Linked DNA regions of Homo sapiens: region 2 is linked to region 1. Evidence: promoter capture Hi-C in 16 types of primary human blood cells and fetal thymus (Javierre and others, 2016). All regions are on one chromosome and are shown on one strand. The core of a region is centred on a gene start or on the middle of the fragment in contact, and the rest is flanking DNA. Distances in the headings are between cores, read along the strand shown. Region 1 holds the start of DNAJA4-DT (DNAJA4 divergent transcript). Region 2 holds the start of ADAMTS7 (ADAM metallopeptidase with thrombospondin type 1 motif 7).

Region 1 (7,093 bases), core at 3,076-5,575:
CCATTTTGCAAAGGAGGAAATGGATGTTCAGAGAAAGCTAATTTGCCCAGGGTCACACAGCCAGTGAGGGGCAAGGCCTCTCCAAGTGGAAATCCCTCCCAATATTAAAACAATGGCCTGAAATGACAACTGCTGTTTCGGGGGCCAATAAATTAATGTCCTCCCCTTGAAGTACTGGTCCCCCCCATTCCCAGCCTCTCTGCCACCCAGGCACTGTCTCCTCTACCCCTCGCTGCTCTGGCCTTGCATGATTTTGGTCCTCTCTGCTTTCTGGGTTCTCCTCTTGCTTCTCCGATGGCTGTTGCTCCTTCCACTTCCTAAAGACAGGCGCTCCCCAACGCTTTTCCTTGGAGCTCTCTTTCTCCTTCTATGCCCTCTCTCTGGGCTTGCCTCTACAAACCGGCATGCCCAGCTTGGGCCTCTCCCAGGAGGTCCAGATCCACCCAGCCCCCGGGGTCTGCTGCTAGTTACACCTCTCAGAACGCAGGTCCTGCTCTGAAACCTTCAATGGCTCCCCAGGGCCCAGGAGAGCAGCAAACTGCTCCTCAAGGCATTCAAGGCTCTAGCACACCTGTCCCTGCTTCCCTTCCAATTCAGAGCCTTCATCCATCTGTGCTCTCTGCCTTTATCCTGCTGTCCGTTCAGCATGGCTGCCCTCCCTTTCCCTGCTGCTAAAGGGAGCTCTAACTTCCTGGTCTATGGCACATGTCCCTCGTCCATGAAGTCCTTCCTGACCCCCCTCCCCAGGTAGGTGTGGCTTCTCCCTCTCAGAAGACTCCTTGAAGACCCCATCCCAGCATTCCTTGGGTAAAACCTACTTCCGTGCTTGCTTTGACTCTCCTTCTACACTGGGTCAGAAAGGAAGCCCCACACTGCATCAAGGGACAATGGCTGTTCTGTATAATGTGGCTTCTTTGTCTAAAAGTCTCCCCAACTGTAGAATGAGATGGTAGAACTGGATCAGCATTTCCCAAATTTCTGTCATTCAAGTATCACCACTGTTGCTTTATTCTTGTACTACAGGTACTATCATACACTTACTATTTATCTACTCTTTTTTAAAAGAATATAAAAAGGAAACCATACATTGCTTACTGTGAGTGGAAAGTCAGTGTCACTTTTAATAAAAGTTGCAGTAATGAAAAGGTCATCATGAAAATAAACACATAACTGACAAAATAAGAAATGTCTGTGTAATGCCTCCAATCCTCCCAAGCATAATTCTGGGAAATAATCTACTAGATTGTCAGAGGCTTTGTCTAAGATAAACAAAGCTGAACAGTAGTTAAAATTGTAAGGACAGAATTTAATCAGTCATAACTATTGCAATAGGGAAAACAATCTAGTATGAACTGAGCTCAATATCGATTTGTACGAAAAGTAATTGGGCATTTTGAAAAGAACATGAGGGAATAGGGAGAAGGACAAGCAGCAGTTTAACAGAATCAGGGAAGTGAAAAATGACAAAGGGTTGGTCAGTGTAAGTGACATTAGGCCAGCTGTGTCTGCTAGCTGCCAATTGCCAAAGTTAGGATGCCGTTCTCCCAAAGAGACTGGGAGACAGAAGCTCTATCCTCAGGTGTTGGATGAAACAAAAACACAGTAAATATTTTGGCAGCCTTGAGTTTTCTCAGGCAGGCACTTTAAGAGGGGGTAGTGGGGCCAGGGTCACCTTAGGTAGGGGCCCCCAACTCCTAGGCTGCGGACCAGTACTGGTCTGTGGCCTGTCAGGAACCAAGCAGTGGCATTAGATTCTCACAGGAGCTTGAAATCTGCTGTGAACTGTGCATGCGGGGGATCTAGGTTGCATGCTCCTTATAAGAATCTAACGCCTGATGATCTAAGGTGGAACAGTTTCATCCTCCATTTTTTTTTCTTTTTTGAGATAGAGTCTTTCTCTGTTGCCCAGGCTGGCATGCAGTAGCACAGTCTCAGCTCACTGCAACCTCTGCCTCCCGGGTTTAAGTGATTCTCCTATTTCAGCCTCCTGAGTAGCTGGGATTACAGGCACGTGCCACCACACCTGGCTAATTTTTGTATTTTTAGTAGAGACGGGGTTTCACCATGTTGGCCAGGCTGGTCTCAAACTCTTGAGCTCAAGTGATCTGCCCACTTCGACCTCCCAAAGTGCTGGGATTACAGGCCTGAGCCACCACACCTGGCCAAAAATATCTGATTTTACTAGACAATCCTATTGTTATTTATTTTTTATTTTTTGAGACAGAGTCTTGCTCTGTCACCCAGGCTGGAGTGCAGTGGTGTGATCTCAGCTCACTGCAGCCTCTGCCTCCCGGGTTCAAGCGATTCTTGTGCCTCAGCCTCCTGAGTAGCTGGGATTACAGGCGAGCACCACCATCCCTGGCTAATTTTTGTATTTTTAGTAGAGATGGAGTTTCACCAAGTTGGCCAGACTGGTCTTGAACTCGTGGCCTCAAGTGATCTGCCCACCTCGGCGTCCCAAAGTGCTGGGATTACAGGTGTGAGCCACCACGCCAGGCCTTCATCATAGAATTATTGCCCACCCCCACCACCCTGTCCGTGACAAAATCGTCTTCCATGAAACTGGTCTCTGGTGCCAAAAAGCCTGGGAACTGGTGATCTTAAGGATGTGACGTTGAATTATTAGAAACTGTGTTGCTGTCTGTTCAGTCTTTATAGGCCAAGACTGAAGCCTAGTTGAGAAGAGGGCTCATAGGAGCCTGGCTAAGTTCCATCAAGAAGAGAATCACTATCAGCTTCTATACCTTAGCCCCTGCCCGCACCCCCCCACCCCCAAAAAGCATCAATATTGTGACTATATACCAGGTGTTTCACAAAGTTATGAAGTAGTTATAATTAATATCCTCATTAAAAGGTTAAGAAAACTGAGGCTCAGAAAGGTTAAGTTGTCTGCCCAAGGTTCCACAGCCAGAAGTAGCAGTGCTGGGATTTGAACCTAGGTCTAAGTCTCACTGGTTCCAGAATTCACTGTCGTCCAAAGTGCATAGCTCCATTCTATGTTTCTAGGCTCTGTCTTTAAGCCATCCCTCTCCTGCACATGCCCATTTTACGAATGCCTATGGTCCCGAGTACTAAATCTGGACAAGTATGTGACCCTGGGCAGTGGATCTCGGCTCTGGCTGTACCACCTGGGGAGCTTGAAAAACACTGATGCCTGGGCCTCACCCCTAGAAGCTCTAAGGTAACAGGTGTGGAGTGCAACCCAGAGGGATTTTTAGAAGATTCCAGGTGATCTCTGTCAGGAGCCAGGTTTGAGACCCACTGCGCTAGGAGTCTTCACAGTTATCATCCCATTTGATGCTTATAAGAGCCCTGTGAGAAAGGCAGGCAAGTGGCAATCCCCATGTCCTGCTGACGAAGAAAAGTGTTGAGATGCTAAGGCTCAGACAGTAAGATCTGGATAGAAAACAAAGTTTCTGACCTCTAGCTCTGAGTTCTCTGCCTAAAGGTTCTGCTCTACAAGGCATAATTTAAAAAAAAAAAAAGCAACATCTCCAAGAAGAGCAGCTTAATTTCTCTTGTACAGTACAAGTCACTTCTCACCCCCATGGAACACATGGAGGAGAGGTAGTACCTGCTTCAGCCACAGTACCCAAAACAAGGCCAGGGCATCCCAGGGAGGTGAGCAGTGACCCCCCTTTCTGACAAACTGTTCCCCTGGCAGAAGCCAAGGGAGGGCTAGGGGACAGGGGCCTGCAATTCTGTGATAGCGTTGGGGCCTGCTTTCCACGCCCACTTTTCTGCAACGGTTTGTGATCTGGACTCCCTGAGCACCCGTTGGGAGCTGGGGGCAGCCTAGGGAAGTCGGGACCTACTCCTGTACCCTTCCAAGGCAAGCATCCTGGGCCACCTAGCCGTTTCAGGGTCCAGGCCATGGGACCCCCTGTGCATAACACTGGGCCCAACAGCCTGGTCGGGCCCTGATGTTTGCTCACTGATGATGTGCAGAGGAGAGGGGGCAGTTTCCCACTTCTGGGAGAAGAGAGGGCACTGTCGGCCCTTGGCAGACTTGGGGGGCGTCACTGCCCATATGTGGGGGACGTCACTGCTCACCTTGAGGGACTTAAGGGTTCCCAGTGGTGGGCATTCGAGAGGATACTGTCCACATCTGGGGCCAGCAAAGGACCCCTGTACCTCAACTGGAAGGCCAGAGGTTCACCTCAGCCTTGCAGTCATGAGGCAGCAGAGGGCCCCTACCCACTCCAACCCCCTAAAAAATGCAACAATCCCAGGCACACCTTAGGCCGCAGCCTGGCTGTGACCGAACAGACGGCGGCCACACCCCCGGGGAGAGGCCGGGTGGGGACCGCAGGGCGCAGCTCTCCCAGTCCCACCCTTCGGCGCAGGGCTCCGGCCAACACAGCCCTCCAGGCCGCCTACTCTCCAGCCAGCCGGCTCCACGGACCCACGGAAGGGCAAGGGGGCGGCCTCGGGGCGGCGGGACAGTTGTCGGAGGGCGCCCTCCAGGCCCAAGCCGCCTTCTCCGGCCCCCGCCATGGCCCGGGGCGGCAGTCAGAGCTGGAGCTCCGGGGAATCAGACGGGCAGCCAAAGGAGCAGACGCCCGAGAAGCCCAGGTGAGCGGCTGGGCCGCGCCGGACGGGCGTCGGGGGTCTGGGCCGCGAACCCGCCGCGGGGCCGCCGGAACCTCCGCGAAGGTTCTAGGCCTTTGTGGCGTCACCGTCTCCTTGCGGAAGCTTCCGCCGGCGCCGAATAAAACCCGCCGCGGAGGAGCCGGTGGCTCTAGTGCGGTGGAGCCAGGCGTGGAAGTCGGTCCGGCGCGGGGCGGGGGGCGGGCGGGAGCTACAAGCGGCGGCGGCGGCGGCGACCGTGACCGTGACGCGCGAGCGGGCGGCGGGGGCGCGGGCCAGGGGCGCGGGCCAGGGTGCCGGCAGGGGCGTCCGGGGCGCTCTGACCGGCCTCGCCCGCCCCCCCCGCAGACACAAGATGGTGAAGGAGACCCAGTACTATGACATCCTGGGCGTGAAGCCCAGCGCGTCCCCGGAGGAGATCAAGAAGGCCTATCGGAAGCTGGCGCTCAAGTACCACCCGGACAAGAACCCGGATGAGGGCGAGAAGGTGCGGGGCGGCGCGGGGCACGGGCCGGGCTCCCGAGGGGCCAAGGGTTATTAAGCCAGGAGCATTGAAGGCGACGGGAAACCTGAGCCGCGTTTGTTGGGGAGGCTGTCGCCAGGCGCCTCGGGGCCAGGCCGGGCAGAGGTGGCGGGAGACCCTGGGCGCCGTGCGGCGCGGTCGGTGGAGGGCGCTTCGCCCGCGGAGGAGGCATGTGGTGCGGCACTTGGGTCCCTCGCGAGTCCCTGCCGAGCCCATTCATTCCTCCATTCGCTCCACAAGTGTTTGGGTAGCCCCTGCCGTGCGCGCCGGACTAGTTCTCATAGGGTGTGTTGGTTCCCTGTGGGAGAGGCGGCCTGGGAATCGGGAAACTGAGGCACACACAAACAGTTGTTTACTTGCTGGGAACGACTGGCTCATATTCTCTGTTGATGCATAAACCCTAGGGATGAGTGTCTTTAATCTGAGCTGGTACCTTGGACAAACGCCGTGCCTCTCTTGAGAATGACTAGCTGGATTTGTTCTGTGCACCTACTGCCTACCTGATAAAAGCGTCAGATAGTGAATAATCCCATTTTCTTTATTAAACAGGGACACGGACATCTGCAACCTGACATCAGCTTGTACTCATATTCTGGGTTTTCGGTGACAAGTGACACACAGTTGATCATAAGTACCAATCATAGACTGAAAATGCTCTGCATTTTAGAGACAGAAGTTAAAAGCTTTTCCATCCTGTTTACAGAAAGTTTGCTTTTTATCTCTAAAGAGGCTCATGACCCACCTGAATAGGTGAATTGAAGGATGAGGCATTGCAAGGAAAGGCTGCTAACCCTCCCGTTCCTCCTTTCACTTCTTGCCATTTTCTTACAAAACTTTGGTTGTTCCGCATGGGTCTTGAGAGGTGGGGCCGTTATAGTAGCTGATAGCAGTGTCACTTGGGCCACGTTTGAAACCACACCAATCACCCATGTAGCATTTAAGACCTGTGGAAACGACGCTGGAATCAAAATACCTGTCTGTGTTAGTTGTTCCAAGCTGGAGAAAGCTACTTCAGGACGGTTGGCTGAATGGCAACAGTGATGGAATATTTATATTTAGCCACATGTGCTGAATGTGGCTGTCACAAGTTTAAAATGCTTTCCTGTAAGACCATTTGTCTGTTACTCACTTGCGTTCTTTCTCATCTATATTTAGATGGCTTACTGTAGCTTTTAAAGGCACTGGCGTTTTACATGGTGCTGGTGATTCATCCACCTGCTCCCTACATTCATTGTGGTCCGCTTCTGACAGTCTCCTTTAAGGAGAGCTTGTAGGCTTCTAATTTCACATTTCAGCAAGCTGGCTAAAGACATGTGGGAAAGCCTGACCCTGGATTCAGGTCAAATCTCAGCACTCACAAGAGTAAGTTCATGCCTCTGTGTATACAGTTAGAGCTGAATATGCTTTTGTTCTGAAGCTTTTATTTTTAAAAAATTAGACTTGACCTGTACTACATATGTGTAGGTTTCACCCTGTCTATACCTGTCTGGGCAGGTTGTTTGGTTTGTTTTAAACTAATATTTATTCATAGCCAGGCACTGAGTTAGTGTCACATAAATGAGGCCCTTGGCAGTGAGGTCTGGCAGGCCCATCAGCTTGGAGGGAAGGGTTCTGTGATGTGCCCATTGCCAGGAATACTTTCCTTCCTCTACCTTCATGGAAGGGGATAAAACTCTTTAGTTCTCAGCTAAAACATCTTCCAGGAGGCTGCCTCTGCCTCATAGACTGAACCACAGGCCCAACGTGCATCCTACTTTAATGGTGATTACTTGTTTGATTAACTGTATTCCTTTAATGGTGATTACTTGTTTGATAACTGTATTACCTGCCATAATGTAAGCAGGGCAGTGACTGTGCCCCCATGGCCACTTATGGGGTGAGTATCTAGCTGTGCAGGGTAGGTGCTAAAATGTTTGTTAGCTGGCTGAGTAAATGCACTTTAAAAAATTGTGTGTAGGAGGAGAGGGCCCTATAAAGGCA
Region 2 (7,093 bases), core at 4,594-7,093, 550 kb after region 1:
GGCCCCATGTTTCAGGAAAAATCTGTCTCCCTACCCACCTTGTTTGCTCATTTACGTTACCTGCCTAGTCCACGGCATTTGGTATGTGACCCTTGGCTACTAACTGTGAGGGGGCACTAGGTGCTCCAAAGTCCAGGAAAGTGGGTAAGACACCATCCTTGCCTTCAAATGGAGAAATGGCCAGACGCAGTGCCTCACACCTGTAATCGCAGCATTTTGGAAGACCGAGGAGGGCAGATTGCTTGAGTTCAGGAGTTCGAGACCAGCCTGGGCAACATGGTGAAATCCCATCTCTACAAAAATACAAAAATTAGCCAGGCATGGTGGTGTATGCCTATAGTCTCAGCTACTCCGGAGGCTGAGGTGGGAGGATTACTTGAGCCTGGGAGGCGGAGGTTGCAGTGAGCAGAAATTGTACCACTGTACTCCAGCCTGGATGACAGAGCGAGACTCTGACTCCCCCCCCCAAAAACACACACACACACACACACACACACACACACACACAAAAAAAAAAAAAAAAAAAAAAAAAAAACAGAAAAATGGGTGCAGTAGACCCAAGACCCCCACTCTGGCACAGTGCTGACAAGGTCCAAGCAAGGGGAAAGGATGACACCTTATGGATGCATTGGAATGAAGAAAAGTTTCATCAAGGAGGATGCATTTGAGATGTCCCTTAACATATGTTAATTCAACAGTGAAGACAAGAAGGGCCTCATGGTGGTAGGGGCACTGTGTGGTAAACCCTCAGAGAAGTGGGGAAAAGCCAGAAGTAAGAAAGGGCAACAAGAAGTTTAATCTTGGTCCAGGCATGTGTTTTGTAAAATGGGAGGCAATGGAGGGACAAAATAATGCACTATAGAGCATGGGCTTTGAAAGTAACAAGACCCAGGGCAGGCCCAAGTGGGCCACTTAATAGTTGTATAATCTGAGTCACTGCATATCTCTGGGTTTGTTTCCTCATCTGCTTGGAGAATCCAGGCCAGAAAACGTAAGGAAGGGAGCCCAGGTCAAGGAGACGAAAATGACAGAGATAGGGAAGAACTACTTCCCAGGTTCACTCGCAGTGGGAGATTTCCTAACTTTCCCAAGGATCACAGTTCGTGGAGGCTACAACTCCAAGGCTTGTTTTTGTTTTGTTTTGTTTATGTTTTTGTTTTTTTGAGAGAGAGTTTCGTTCTTGTCCCCCAGGCTGGAGTACAATTGCATGATCTTGGCTCACTGCAACCTCCGGCTGCTGGGTTCAAGCAATTCTCCTGCCTCAGCCTCCCAAGTAGCTGTAATTACAGGTGCAAGCCACCATGCCCAACTAATTTTTGTATTTTTAGTAGAGGTAGAGTTTCGCCATGTTGGCCAGGCTGGTCTCGAACTCCTGACCTCAGGTGATCCACCCGCCTCAGCCTCCCAAAGTACTGGGATTACAGGCATGGGCCACCATGCCCACCCTCCAACACTTGTTTTAAGTGAGTATTAACGTTGGTTCCCAGGGCAAGGACAATCCCAGCCAAGGCAGCTAAAGATGAGCTGAAGGTCAGGGGGGCACTGATGCCAACCAGCTCTAAAATTCTCAACTGGGGGAGCTACATGACACTCTTTTAGGCAAGTTTTGTCCTCAAATGCATGTGGTTGGGGAATGGAAGCAGGTATGTAACTGAGGAATCAACCACTGGGGAGAAAAGGCCCCAAAAGCTTAAAAAAAATAAAGTATCTCTGGGGAAGAACCCATGCCCCAGCGGATGTACAGTCCTGTTGAGAATACCTGCTGTAGATCCTGGGCAAATATTGCAAGACAGAAATTCCAGATGACTTACAAAGAAGCATCCTATTAAGTTCAAAAATGTGGACAGGGCTAAGTAGAGCTATGCCGCAGGTGAAAAGCATTCGGATTAGTGAGCTCTAGAGCCAGAGAGGCTGTGTTTGAATCCCAGCTCTGCTACCCATATCTGTGAGACCATGGGTAAATTACTCAACCACTCAGAATCTCAGTTTCTCCATCTGTAAAATGGGGATGATAATAATTACAGCTGCTCTCTTTGGTTGTGTAAGAATTAAATGAGTTAGTATGTAAGTGCTTATAACAACAGCTGGCACATAGCAAATGTGAGCTAAGTTATGACTGAAAATTAGCAAGAGAACTTCTAAAGTATATTTAGCTTTTTCTTTTAAAAACTTGTTGTTTTATCTGTTTGCCTAATGGCTTAAAAACAAACAAAACAAAACAAAACAAAAAACATGTTTTTATTTATTTATTTCTTTTTTTTTTTTCTGAGATCTCCCAGGCTGGAGTGCAGTGATGCGATCGTGGTTTACTGCAGCCTTGACCTCCTGGGCTCATGCAATCCTCCCACCTCAGCCTCCCAAATAGCTGGGACTACAGGCGTGGACTACCAGGCCTGGATAATTTTTAAATTTTTTTGTAGAGATGGGGTCTCATTATGCTGCCCAGGCTGGTCTTGAATTTCTGGGCTCAAACGATCTGCCTACCTTGGCCTCCCAAAGTGCTGGAATTACAGGTGTGAATCACTGTGTCTGGTCTAAAACATGTTTTTCAATCAACAATAAAAGAATAGACTTACAGGATGTTGCCACTTTTATTGCAATAATTTTTTTCTTGTTTTGTTCAGATTTTTTCTTTTGAGACAGTCTCCCTGTGTCACCCAGGCTAGAATGCAGTGGTGCGATCTCGGCTCACCGCAACCTCTGCCTCCTGGGTTCAAGCAATTCTCATGCCTCAGCCTTCCGAGGAGCTGGGATTACAGGCATGCACCACCATGTCCAGCTAATTTTTGTATTTTAATAGAGATGGAGTTTCACCATGTTGGCCAGGCTGGTTTCGAACTCCTGGCCTCAAGTGATCCGCCAGCCTCAGCTTCCCAAAGTGCTGGGATTACAAGCATGAGCCACTGCAGCCCGCCAGCATTACCTTTTTTTATAGTGAACTTGTATTGTTTTGCCATTAAAATATTTTTAAAAAGTGCAGGGGTAAGTTTAAAAATAAGTAACTTTCACTGTAGCCTAGTTGACCTCACTCAGTAGAGATGTTGGTGGCTGAAACTAGCACCACCCAGTGCCAGCAAGGAGTAATTGCAGGTTCCAGTCTCGACCGGTTATGTGCTTGCAACAAAGCTGAGCCTGCAGAGTTCAAGTGACAGTGGGATGGCAACAGGCACCATTCAAGAGGACTGCCAGAGATTCATGGCCAAATCTATTCTGCCAAGTCAGGAGGTCTGTTCTGATTGGACCAAGCTCCTGCCACATTGGGTGTTAAATACTTTTAATATCTCCCCTGGGTGACAGAACTGTCACTTTGGAGCTTCTACCAAAGAAATGCCAAGATGGTGTTTACCCTCACCTCCCTATCAAGAACCTGAGTTACAATCCAGCCCTTCAAATGACCCACAGCTCATGCCAAGGAGGAAAAATAACTGGCAGGGTGGGGGGTAGTATGTGAATGCCCTCCTCTGTGAGTTCTAGTATGCACAGAAACACATGCACACAGAGTTCACATGTGCCATACGGCATGAGGAGGACACATGACTGGGCTCCAGCCTCAGAAACCCTAGCAGGTCCCTGGGTCAGTCACAAGTGGGGAAAAGGGATATATTTTCCTAAAAGTGAGCCCAGGATGAGCCCTTTGGTCTTAAAGAAGGTAACATTCAGTGGTAGGAGGAGCCCCAGGCTTAGGTCCTGGGCTTCAAAGAAAATGACAAACAGGCCAGCAGCCTCAGAGTCACCAATCCTGAGGGAGTGCAGAACAGGAAGGACCCCATGCTCTATATCTATGGGAACACTAGAGACAGACTTCACCCTTGGAGTGTTTGTGCCCAGATTAGGTTGGAGAGAGTGCCTGGCCTGCCTCCACCCTCAAACAGCAGGTCCAGGTCATCTGGGGAGTCCTGGGTCGGCCTGGCAGATTAATAAAAATAATGACCACTACATTGTAGTCACTGTGTCCTGCCTGAGCAACTGACATATTCAATATCTCATTTAATCCTCATAAGAATCCCACGAGGTTGACCGCACCCAACTCTTCCCACAGCTGCCAGGGGGCCAGGACCCAAGTCCTGAGGGAAGCATTTTCCTGCTCTCCCATTCCCATCGCCCGGTTCATCCTCCTCAGCCCCCAGCTCTGGACAGTGGAAAACACAAGCCTCATTCAGGAAGCTCAGGAGTCCAACCCCACAGGTCGCTCTACTCTGAGCCTGTTTGCTGGTCCATAAAAGGACTTTCCATCACTTGCTTTGCACGGTTGTTGTGGAGATGATGAGAAATAAGAACCCGTGAGGCTGGCACACAGTAGGTGCTCATTAAATGTTCGCTCCCTCTGCGCTCTGCGCATGGCTGCTAGACCAAATCTTTCCAAAACACTGCTTTCATCAGCTGCTCCCCTCAACGGCTTCCCAAACCTCTAAGATCAAGAGTCAATGTCCCCATCCTTCCCGCCCAGACTACTTTCTCGTCACAATCCCTCCAGTGGGGAGGCAGGTCGACCCCATCCCAGCAAGCAACCCTAATCCAGTCCCCCGACTGATGCTCCCCAGGGGAGGGCCCCACTCCCTCCACGCCCTTCTAGCTCATCCAGAATCCATCCATCCTTCCAGTCTCTCCAACCTCATGCCCCTCCTCTCCTACAAAGCCTGCCGGTCGGCTCTATTGCAGGACTCTCCCCACTATCCACCGGCTCCCCTGACTGGGAGCTCCCTGAGCACCGGGCCTGGGGTCTCCTACATCCTCGGTTACTGAATTCCCAGGCCGGCTGCGTCGGACGCGCCAGCAGCGCGGCCGCCCGGCAGGTCGCCGCCAAACAAGAGTCTGGACGCAGGCCAGAGGCTCGTCGGAGGCCGGCCCGGCGGGGCGGGGAGAGTTAACCCATGGCCGGGAAAAGAAGCTCCTGCTCCCCGCTCCACTCCCGGCGTCTTCACACTTGGGGAAGGGAGAGGCAGGAAGTGCAAGGACCGCGCAAGACCCGGCCCCCCGAGCCGCCAGGGGCCGCGCCAGCAGCCCAGATGCGGTGGGCGGGAGCTGGGGGGGCGGCGGGGTCCCGCGAAGACCTGCGACCTGGCGCCCTCGCCGGCTGTGTCCCGGCCAGCCCGCTTTCCAGGCGAGCCTCGCTAAGGAGTGTGAGAAACCAAATCCTCAGTGGGTAAACCGCGCTCCGTCCAGCCCACTCGGACGAGAGCTCTCCCGGGAGCCAGGCGCGTTGCTGCACCCGAGGTGGGGAAACCGGAGCCCGAAGAGCGGAAGGGGCTTATTCCAGGCGACAGGCAGTGTCAGTAACTGAATCAGGGGCCGAGGAAGTTTCCCCAGAAGCGCGGCTTCGCTCCCGGCCCGGCCCGACCCCGACTACTGTCCCCTAATACCCAGGGAGCGGAAGACGCGACCAACTCCAGGCACAGCGGAGCCGGCGCGGGGTCCACAAAGGTGAGGAGGGACAAAACCGAGACTGGGGGAGCGGGAAGGGGTGGCAGGCCCGGCTGGCCGGGGAGGGGCGGACACCCACCTGGTGCGGGTCCGGGGGCGCCGGGAGCCAGAGCGCAGAGGAGCAGGAGGAGGGGGCGCAGCAAAGGCGCGGGGCTGCGGGGACTGGGGCCGCCGGGCATGGCAGGAACCGGGCGGCCGCCGGGTGACCCCGCGCGCACGCTCTCGTCCGTCCCGTCCGGTCGCTGCCTGGTCCCAGGTCCGGCTCAGGACATGCCCGGCCGGCGTGCAGCTCCCGGCGACCCGGCCCCGACTCCGTTCGGCTGCGCTCGGTCCGCGGGCAACAAAGGCTGCAGGGCCCGCCCCCTTGGCCGCTGCAGAGGCAAAGAAAAGACAAGAGAGCTAGAAGGAGAGAAAGAAAGAAAGAAAGAAAGGGAGGGAGAGTGAGGGAGGGCGGCTGCCGGCCCCCGCCCCGCCCCTCGGACTCCTTCCCCCGCCCCTGGCCCCGCCCCGCCCCGGCCGGCCCCGGCCTCATCGGCCCCGCAGGCCGTGCTCGCCTCAAGGGCTGGCCGGCCCGGCGCAGGCAGCGCCCCGCAACGGATGTCCGCCCCCCTCGCCCCCCTGTCCCGAGCGCCCCCTGCCGGCGGAGCCCTGCCAGGCCTTTCCGACCCCGGCCGGTTGAGGACCCCCGGAAAGAATCTGGAATTTCCAGAATTAATGTGTTGTCCCTAAATTGGGCTCCACGAGGTGCCCTTCGCTGTGTTCCCCAGGCCAAGCAGGGCAGCCCCTCAAAAGGGGACGCGGGAGGCCTCCAGAGGGCCACACCGGGGGCCCTGCTTCAAAGCTATCTGCGGAGACAGGCCTGGGCCCTCCCTGGACAGACAGCGGTTGCCCGCGCGAGGTGGGGCCCCGCAGTTCCTCGTCTCCTGACTCCTCTCCTAGTGCGTTTGCTTGAAGCAGAGCGCAGAGTTGAGCCCACAGGCGGGGGACCGCGGCTTCGCCCAGGCCAGCGCCCACAGACTTTCAGCAGGGGCTCCCGGGGAGCCTGGAGGCCGGCCAACCCCAGCCTCACATCCCAGGCCAGCCTCCGCCTCCAACACCGGCCGTCTGTCCTTCGTGGCCCCAGCCCTGGCTCTGGCTTCCGGCTCCCCTTCCCCCTGTGCTCCCAGGAGCTTCCTTTCTCCCTTCTGCCGTCACTAAACATGGCCCTGTACCGAGGACGCCCGTCTTGTCCTCGGGGCGGTTGCGGTCAGCTTCCTCCCCTTGGTTAGTCTTTGTGTGCCCCCTGCCCTCTGAGGCCCGCACACCTCCTCATTGTCCAATCTCCTGGGCCCTTTCATTCAATTCCTGGAAGCTCACTTCTGGCTTCCTCTCCACCCTCAACCTGTCTGTCCTCTAGGGAATTTGTGTAGTACAGGGTCACCTACTTCCTCCATCTCATCTCCAGTGACCTTCCACTCCACCTCAGCCATCAGGTCTCAGGGCCAAAGCCTGGGCTGTGTCATCCCTCAGAACTGCTCCATCTTGGAAATCCGAAGCTCAGGTGCCCCCCTGTCAGACCCGACTCTGCAGTCCTTTCCACCTTCACAGTCCCACTATGTATTGCTCTTCCTCCAGTCCCTTGATACCTTCCTCTTCGCCCAACCTACCAGCCCCTCCTGGCTTCACCTACTTC

What was found. Contacts are between HindIII fragments. The CHiCAGO score rates a contact against its expected background, and 5 or more counts as called.
Region 2: a contact is called between the fragment with the promoter of ADAMTS7 here and the fragment with the promoter of DNAJA4-DT in region 1, in 1 of 17 cell types (M0 macrophages). The highest score is 5.8, in M0 macrophages.

Annotation. Positions count from the first base shown.
Region 1 is chr15:78,259,819-78,266,911 of GRCh38, forward strand. DNAJA4-DT (DNAJA4 divergent transcript) reads right to left here and starts at 4,326. Exons shown (of 4, transcript XR_001751621.1): 1 at 4,239-4,326; 2 at 4,054-4,139. DNAJA4 (DnaJ heat shock protein family (Hsp40) member A4) reads left to right here and starts at 4,744. Exons shown (of 7, transcript NM_001130182.2): 1 at 4,744-5,077. The coding sequence starts at 4,946. RefSeq lists silencers at 4,598-4,677, 4,988-5,277. The HindIII fragment of the contact is 6,233 bases long and covers 1-4,693 here.
Region 2 is chr15:78,805,621-78,812,713 of GRCh38, forward strand. It overlaps ADAMTS7 (ADAM metallopeptidase with thrombospondin type 1 motif 7), which reads right to left and starts at 5,844. Exons shown (of 24, transcript NM_014272.5): 1 at 5,501-5,844. The coding sequence starts at 5,600. RefSeq lists a silencer at 5,872-6,291. The HindIII fragment of the contact is 7,795 bases long and covers 1,688-7,093 here.